3 separate regions of the Homo sapiens genome follow, and all the other regions are linked to region 2. The links are contacts of gene promoters, found by promoter capture Hi-C in blood cells and fetal thymus (Javierre and others, 2016). All regions are on one chromosome and are shown on one strand. The core of a region is centred on a gene start or on the middle of the fragment in contact, and the rest is flanking DNA. Distances in the headings are between cores, read along the strand shown.

Evidence for each region. The method cuts DNA at HindIII sites, captures the fragments that hold promoters and counts their contacts. A CHiCAGO score of 5 or more calls a contact.
Region 1: a fragment that was not itself captured here is called in contact with the fragment with the promoter of CFAP58-DT in region 2 in 1 of 17 cell types (fetal thymus); the score reaches 5.1 in fetal thymus.
Region 3: a fragment that was not itself captured here is called in contact with the fragment with the promoter of CFAP58-DT in region 2 in 1 of 17 cell types (naive B cells); the score reaches 5.1 in naive B cells.

Annotation. Positions count from the first base shown.
Region 1 is chr10:103,712,621-103,715,320 of GRCh38, reverse strand. All of the region lies in intron 5 of SH3PXD2A (SH3 and PX domains 2A), which reads left to right. Among named protein-coding and RNA genes, the nearest start is that of SH3PXD2A-AS1, 33 kb to the left of the region's middle. The HindIII fragment of the contact is 8,786 bases long and covers 1-2,700 here.
Region 2 is chr10:104,352,159-104,354,858 of GRCh38, reverse strand. CFAP58-DT (CFAP58 divergent transcript) reads left to right here and starts at 1,284. Exons shown (of 2, transcript NR_108036.1): 1 at 1,284-1,741. It overlaps CFAP58 (cilia and flagella associated protein 58), which reads right to left and starts at 1,026. Exons shown (of 18, transcript NM_001008723.2): 1 at 953-1,026. The coding sequence starts at 961. RefSeq lists enhancers at 1,297-1,356, 2,634-2,700. The HindIII fragment of the contact is 7,343 bases long and covers 575-2,700 here.
Region 3 is chr10:103,689,361-103,692,060 of GRCh38, reverse strand. All of the region lies in intron 6 of SH3PXD2A (SH3 and PX domains 2A), which reads left to right. Among named protein-coding and RNA genes, the nearest start is that of SH3PXD2A-AS1, 56 kb to the left of the region's middle. RefSeq lists an enhancer at 108-167. The HindIII fragment of the contact is 1,451 bases long and covers 606-2,056 here.

The DNA.
Region 1 (2,700 bases), core at 34-2,533, 640 kb after region 2:
TGAGCTTGAATGGCTCACTTCTCCTCTTCCAGTCTGTTTCCCCATCTGTGCAAGGCCCCCGTGGTACATGTGGCAAAATGATTGTGAGGTTCAAGGGAGCAAATGCGTAGAAAATGCCCCTATGTACTTAACCCATCACAAAAGCTCAGGAAATGGGATTTTCTGTTTTTCTTCTCCTTTCCTCCATTAGCCCAGGCCTGGGTACAGAGCAGCCACCCCAAAAAGGCTGGGGGAATGGAATTGGGTTGGCCGAGCTGAAGGTGAGAGCTGGGAGAGGAGCATCTCACCGCATCCCTCTCTGCTCTGGGAGTCCTGGCCAGGGCTGGTGCTGCCTGTGGAGCGAGGCTGCCCCTACCACCCTGCAGGCTGTTGGAAACTCCAGGGCATCCCAAGTCCCTGTCTCTCCTGGGGGATTGGGGTAGAAAGTCCACCCACACATGCCTGGCTGCATTCTGGTCAGACACCTATCATCAAGATGGCTCTGTGTGCTCTGTAAAGCCCTGCCACCACCCATCTGGCCAGGGACGTGGGCCACACTGTCCTTGCAGCCCCCTGCCACTGGCTGCTGCACAAATAGCCTCTTTATGTTGATGGGCAGGAGGGCCAGCTGGACCTTGGAGCTGTGGGAGGCTGAGGGAGGGAACAGAACGTTAGATAAATAAACCTTGTCCATCCCCTGCCATGCCCCCTTCAACCTGGGTGGGCAGGTGGCAGGAAAATGCCCACAGGAAGCTGTGTCCAACCCACTTGAAAGGGGCATTGGCCGTGGGGAACAAGGACTTCTGCAGGCTCAGCTGTCATGCTGGGTCGGCGAGCTGGAGGGAAGCAGATTCAAACACCCCCAGTCCAGCCCAGCTCATAGCGCACACGCCTGGGAGGCCCATGTCCAGGGAGAGAAGATGACTCTGTTTTCAGGCCTGGCACAGGATTTTCTTCAGGGTGGGGAGGAAGGTGGCAGGGAAGGGTATCCTGGTGCAGGAGTGTGTGGGGGTAGACTGGGTCCCCCATTAATTTCTTGGGCTTGTGCATTCTATGTTCTCTGAAACCTCAAGACCCCCATGTGCCCACTCTCTTACCCCCAAGGAAGGCCTACAGAGCCCTTTGGAGCCTCTGGCGGAAGGGGTAAGCCCTGGAAGAGCGCTGAGGCCTGCTTTGCTGTTATGTTGTGTTCAAGGTGGGTCTTGGTTCCCCTGTGGTTATCACTACCCTCCATGTTCCTAGTCCCTGGGTAGTTACCCCTCCATGGGGAGTTTAAGGCAGAACTGAACCTAGAACCTGGGTCTTCGGCCACTGGGACCAGCCTTCCTCTGTTGCATTCTTGTGGGAGGCGTGTGTTCATGCAAGTGTTTCTAGATCATCTCTATGTGAGGCCCGGGACTTCAGAAGTAGCTCAGTCCCCACTCTCGGGGCCCTGGTGGTCTAAGGGGGAGGATAGCATGGCATGGGCCTGGCTTGCTTCCACAGGAGGCAGCAGACCATTATAGGCTCTGGCAAACCCTGGCTCCTCCCCCACCTGCTGTGTGGCCTGGGAATTATTTAAACTCCCAAAACCTCAATGTCCTTGCCTATAAAACAGGGCTTATAACAGCTGCTGATAATGGGGAAGACAGAAAAAGAACAACTGATTGTAATAGGTGCAGGGCCTTGCGCAGCAACAAACCAGCCTGCTGAGGTGGTCAGGAAGGCCTCCCTGAGGAGGTGGCATTCAGGCTGAGACTAAAGCAAGAGCTCACTACTCAAGGAGAGTGGCAGAGGAGGGCATCCAGGCCAGAGGGAGTCCCTGAGATTGTGTTTCAAGGATTGAAAGAAATTTCATCTTCCGTGAGAGTAAGGGATTTTTGGCTAGGGCTAGGCCAAGAAGAGATAGGCCTGAGGCAGTCATTAACAATCGCTACACTTCAGCATCAGGTAAATGGGCAGAACCTAGGGGTCTCTGGGCTATCTCCTGGCTCTGACATTCTGAGGTCCTAGCAGAACCAGTTGGCTATTGCAGTGGTCCAAGCATGCAACAGTCAGGATCTAGAGAGGGGCTGGATGGCTGTGGGAATGGGAGATATTCATAGACATAGTCCGAGATGAAAGGGACAAGCATCCAGAGACCTTGTGACTCCTTCCCCTTCACAGGCTCTGTAAGTTGGATCTTGAGGGTGGTTGGAGTTTGGGCACGTCTGTAACTTTGGGTCACTTTGAAGCCCTCGGTTCATGAGATACATGTGTATCTGGCTCCACCCCATGGCCATATCGGATATTACAGCTCCCAGCGTCTGGCTGATGCTGTACTAAAGCCGTGCTGGACCCTTGAGCATGGTTTATCTTGTTTGAGCATCCGTACAATCCAGGGAGGCCCATGCTCCTTTCTGCAGATGAGGGACCTTAGGCTGAGACTGGTTGACTTACCTCTCAGCTAGGAAGTGTCAGAGGCTGGACTCATGCCATTGCCCTTCAGCTCCAAGTCCACACCCCACACGGGGGTGAGCTGAGGATGAAGTGAGAAGCACCTGACCCTTGGCTGGGGCAACTAGCTCCAAATTTCAGGATGGGACCCTTCATCAGACAGAAGGGCAGAATAACTGCATCAGGACGCCATGGTTGCCATGGTCACCACGGGGGCTGAAGGTAGAGTTGAAGGCATGTGCCACATTTGGGATCTTTTAAGGGGAACCCAGGTTTCCTGCTGGGCCACATCCCTGAAAAGGTACA
Region 2 (2,700 bases), core at 35-2,534:
GGCTTCATGGGAGTGAAAACTGGTCAGTTGCACAGGGCCCCTTGCTCAGAAAGGCCCCATTCTTGGTTGAATGCTCTGCTGTTCTGTCTTAAAATTATTTGTAATTTTTGAAGAGACTTTGTGTTTTCACTTTGCATCAGGCCTTGCAAATCATGTAGCTGGTCCTGGCTGGAACAGACCGTGGGATGGGTGATGGGGGAAGGGCTCTGATGGGGCCATGAAGGATTTGGGTAGGGCCATAGTGGATGGGGACTGTGAATGGCAAGTAATGACAGGGACCCGAGGCTCTTGAGGTTATACGTGAGGGGGCTAAGGGGCAGGCAGGGAGTCACTGAAGGGTTGCAGAAATAACCCCTCATTGGAGAGGCTGAAAATGGGGTGTACTGTAATATGGGGGAGTGGTGGGGTGATACGAGATGTTAACACAGGAGTCAATGAACACACGGGGCAGAGGTGATGGGCAGAAGAGCCTTAATGAAGCTGTGTGACAGCAGGTGATCACATGTTAGGAAATCAGGGTGTGACAGGTGGACAAGGGCCATTGATTGGGATGACAGCAGGCATCTGTGAAGCTTTCTTCCCGGTTTCCCCTGTGAGATAAGACATCTCCAATATTTCTGTGTGAGCCTCTCTTATGGTATCACTCCATGACTAAAAATCTAGGGCTGGGTGCATGTCACGTGTGGATTTCAGAATTCATTAATTTTCTACCGCACTTAGCATAGCGCCGATGCCACAGTGGGGATAGTGGGGTGTCCACACAAATGAAGGAGAAACAGGAGGTAAAGAGGCCAGAGCCAACGGAGAAAGGCGCGGGAGTGAGTGAGGGTGCAGGGGAATAAGATGTTGATGGGGGGAAATATTGGAATCACCGTTTGTGACAATCGTCAGTAGGAGAGGGACAATGGGGAGGGGTCAAGGGAAAGGCGACAGAGGGGCGCTGACTCCTGACCTCAGCCATCCTGATGCTCTCTGGGGGCGGCCTCAGAGGCTGCTGTGGAGATCGCAGGAGCTGGGCCGGAGTCTGGGAAAGAAGCTAAAGGCGCGACGCGCTGTCTCTATCGCCCGCCCCGAGCGGAAACCCGCGCTCGGCGCGTCGGCCCGTCGCCTGGCAACGGACACGCCCTCTAGGGGCGCTAGCGGGAATTCGAAAGGGGAGGAGCTTCTGCGGCTGGCACCTGGGCAGGGTTCCTCAGAGAAATATGCAAATATATCCCAATGGGGCGGAGCCAAGGAAGTGAGGGGGCGGTGCCCCTGAGAGGCTGGGAGGAGTCCCACGGTGTGGGCAGATGGAGACACCCAGGAGAAAGAAGAGGGCGAATTGGAAGAGGCCACCCAGAAAGGACGGTGTGTGACACTAGGGAGCCAAGCATGGAGAGCCGAGGACTAACGCTTGGAAGGAAATGTGGACCAGAAGGTTCCGGATGAGGGAAGGACTGGCGGCTACACTCTGCCTTCCGAGACAACGAGGAATAATCTCACTTCAGTCAGTTCAACCCTTGTAAAACAGCTACTGTGTGCAAGACACGGAGGGAAAGCTGAAGTAGAGAAACCACAGACGCTGTCTTCAAAGGGTTTAATCTAATATTAGTGATGAGAAAAATAGGGTGCAGAGCTTAAGGCATCCTGGAAAAACGTATGTAGCGCCACATCGCGAAAATCTCTCTTCTGGGACCCCTCTCCCAAAAACGTTTCTTCGCCCTCTTCTCCCCCTTCTGCCTCCACTCTTTCTGGACTTCAGGTACAAATAGTTGAAATAATTATACTCCTTGGTTCATGAAATGTGTAAGACTCCTCTCTGGTTTTATTTTCCCCCTTTATCCCCATCCCTACTCCCAACCCCTATCCTCAACCCCATAGGCATTCATGCTGCTGTGCTTCCATATGTATTTTTGGGAAATGTACAAAATTTTTATCAGTGTATTTTTTAAAAATGTTTAAATAATGCTACTGGACTTTGGAGATTATCTTATTTTCTACTTTTTTCACTCAACATTCTTTTTAAGGATCTGTCCTCGTTGCGATTGGCAAGCATATAGTTCATTGCTTCTGAGTACTGCACAGCGTTTCATAAGGGGCATCTACCACACTTCACTTCCATTCCCCAGGTGTTAGGTAACAAGGCCGCCTCTAATTCTCCAATACATCAAGTAATACAGCCATGATCGTCTTTGTCCGTGGTCCCTTAAGGACCTCTGTGCAAATTCCTCTGAAATATATGCCAAGGAGTAAGATTGTTAAAGTTATAGGGATGCACAGGGACATTTGCTTATGCAGCTGCGTCCTGCACAAACACATCCAGCCATGGGGCAATGGAGGCTGAAAAACTGTCTCTACTCTCTTTCCCGTGCCATGTGCCCTACTGGAGAAAGGTGTGCACTTTTTATTCTCACAAAATCTCTGTACGCCAGCCAAGTCATGAACCTAGAAGGCTGTAACTATCTAGAGGGTGTGATATTTTCAAACTCATCTGGCCAGATGAACAGTTTTCCAAGAGCACAACGATGCCCAGTAGCCTAGTACAAGCCCTGGGTACTTACCAAGCACTTTAAGATTGTGTACCAGAGTTACTGCCCTACGCTGCACTCCAGTGTGGGGTTTCCATCCAACACTTCCATCCATCCCTTCCAGAAGGTGATAGGTCTTTTTTATTAAACACTCATAAAGTGTTTAGTAAATACCAGATACTATTCTAAGTGC
Region 3 (2,700 bases), core at 82-2,581, 660 kb after region 2:
ATGTAGGAGGTAACACGTGGCTCCTGTGAATGGCTCCTGTGCCCAAGTGCCTTGGCCTGTGGATAGGTTGAGGGGAGTGCCCCTGTGTGGTGGATGGATGTAGAGTGGGGTAGATGTAATTGTATGATATGTATGTTTCTGTGTGTACAAGTGCTTGCTCACGTGCCTATTGGGACAGGGAAAGTTGTGTCCTGGTTTATGTGTTGGGGGCGTGTGTGGCTGTGGGGTTCTGTGCACATGTGTGAGTCATGATAGCTGTGTGCTGTGAGGGTATGTTTACTTGTTTGGGTGCATAGGCTGGGGGTGTGTGTGTGGTTGAGATATATCTGGTTATGGGTTGGAGTCTGTGTTTGTGTGTATTTGTGTACCAGTTTGGGACATGTCTAGCTGTGGGATGAGGTGTGTGTGCACTTGCCTATCACCTGGGTCTGGGGTGTCTCAGGCAGGCACACCCACTGGTGCAGAAGGCCATTTCCTCCTGTGAACCGTGGGGTGAGCCTGGGGAAGAGCATTCCTCCACTGTCACTCCAGGCAGGTCTCAAGTGGGAGAATGGAAGGCGCAGCAAAATGGGGGTTGTGTTCTGTCACCGCCCACACAGGAAGCTTGCCCTGGGCCTCAGACGTATAGTGTCCTGGTTGAACCTGGGCTCAAATTCTGGCTCTGTGTGACCTTAGGCAAGTTTCATAACTTCTCTGTGCCTCAGTTTCCTCATTTTCTTTAAAACAAAAATGCTAATGTTATCTGCCTCACACATAGAGGATTAAGTATGTTAATGTGGAATAGTCCTGGCACCGAATAACTACTGTACAAGTATCAGTTCTCAGCAGCAGCAGCAGTAGCACTTTCTGAAGGCCTGGGACCTAGTCCTGCCTCCATTGCCACTTTTCTCCCTATGTGACCTTGGGCAAATTCCTTCTCTATGCTGGGCCTCAGTTACCCCCATAAAGGCAAGAGCTGGAACAAATAACCTCTCAGGTCCCCCGCCACAATCTCTGGGGCTCAGCTTCTGTGCTGCTTCCTAAGCAATGCAGGGCCACACCCAGGCTGCCTCCCCCAGGGAAAGCCAACCCCCAGTTTCTCTGTCTTCCACTCTCACGCCAGGAAAAGGATGGATGGAGAAATTTAATTTATATTGGTGTGCTTATGATAATGGCCACTTAGTGTCATGGTTGAAAATGCCAGCTCTGAAGCCAGACAGCTGGAGTTGAGAGTCTGGCTTCTCTCCTCTGTGACCTTGGGTAGATTTCTTAGCCTCTCTGTGCCCATTACTTCTTCTGTACATTTGGGATAATATTCATACCCATTTTGTGATGGTTTATTATGTGTCAACTTGGCTGGGCCACAGTGCCCAGATATTTGGTCAAGCATTATTCTAGATGTTTCTGCAAAGGTGTTTTCTAGGTGAGATTCATATTTAAATAAATCAGTGGATTTTGAGTAAAGCAGATTACTCTCCATAATGCAGGCTAGCCTCATCCAATTGGTTGAAGGCCTCTTAATGGAACAAAGACTGACACACACACACCCTCCCTCAGCAAGGAGGAGTTCTGCCAGCAGCTGCCTTTGGACTCAGCTGCAGCTCTTCCCTTAGTCTCTGCCGGCCTCCCCCATCACATTTTGGACTCTCAAACCTCCACAATCACATAAGCCAGTTCCTAAAATAAATCTCCCTCTGTCTTCAAGCTCTCTATGCACCTCCCATTGGTTCTGTTTCTCTGGAGAACACTGACTAATACACACCTCATATGGTTATAACGAAGATTAGATAAACTAATATATGTAAGCATGTTTAGAACACTGCCTGCCACCTAGAAAGCTCCCCTGGAAGTGCTAGATGCTGTTATCGAATGAGCATCTACTATGTGCGAGGACATTTTCACGTTTCCTCATTTGCTGATCAGAGCCACAGTACATGATGGGTGGTGGGATTCCCATTTTGCAAATGAGAAGCTGAGGCTCCGATGGGGTGACTGCCCACACACAGTCCTTGGCAAACTGAGGATTGGAGTCCATGTTTAGGGCTCTGTTCTGCTCTATAATGAACCTCACGAAGCTTCCCAGGGTCACTCCAGCCAGGGACATTTGCGCAGAGGAAATGGATGCCATTCTGGGGTTCACTGTAAATCTCTTACTGAGCATAGAGCTTAGACTTGAGGCAAGGCTTAGGGATGGTGGAGTCAACAGAAGAAGAAAGTTCTCAGGAACTTTCTGGAGGAAGCAAGGCTGGTGACCTTGAAAACTGAAGGACAGTTTGGCCTCAAATTTATCTGCATCTTTCTTCCCTCTATTGAACCTGCTCCTTCCAGCATCTTCCCCATCTCAGGAACTGGCACCATCCACCCCATTGCTCAAGCCCAACATCTAGAAGTCACTCGTTTTTTGTTTTTTGTTTCTTTGAGACAGATTCTCCCCTGTTGCCCAGGCTGGAGTGCAGTGGCATGACCTTAGCTCACTGCAACCTCCGCCTCCTGGGTTCAAGTGGTTCTCTTGCCTCAGCCTCCCGAGTAGCTGGGATTACAGGCACCTGCCACCACACCTGGCTAATTTTTGCAGTTTTAGTAGAGACAAGGTTTCACCATTTTGGCCAGGCTGGTCTCGAACTCCTGACCTTAAGTGATCCACCCATCTCAGCCTCCCAAAGTGCTGGGATGACAGGCGTGAGCTACTGTGCCTGGCTGAGAAGTCATTCTTGACTCTTG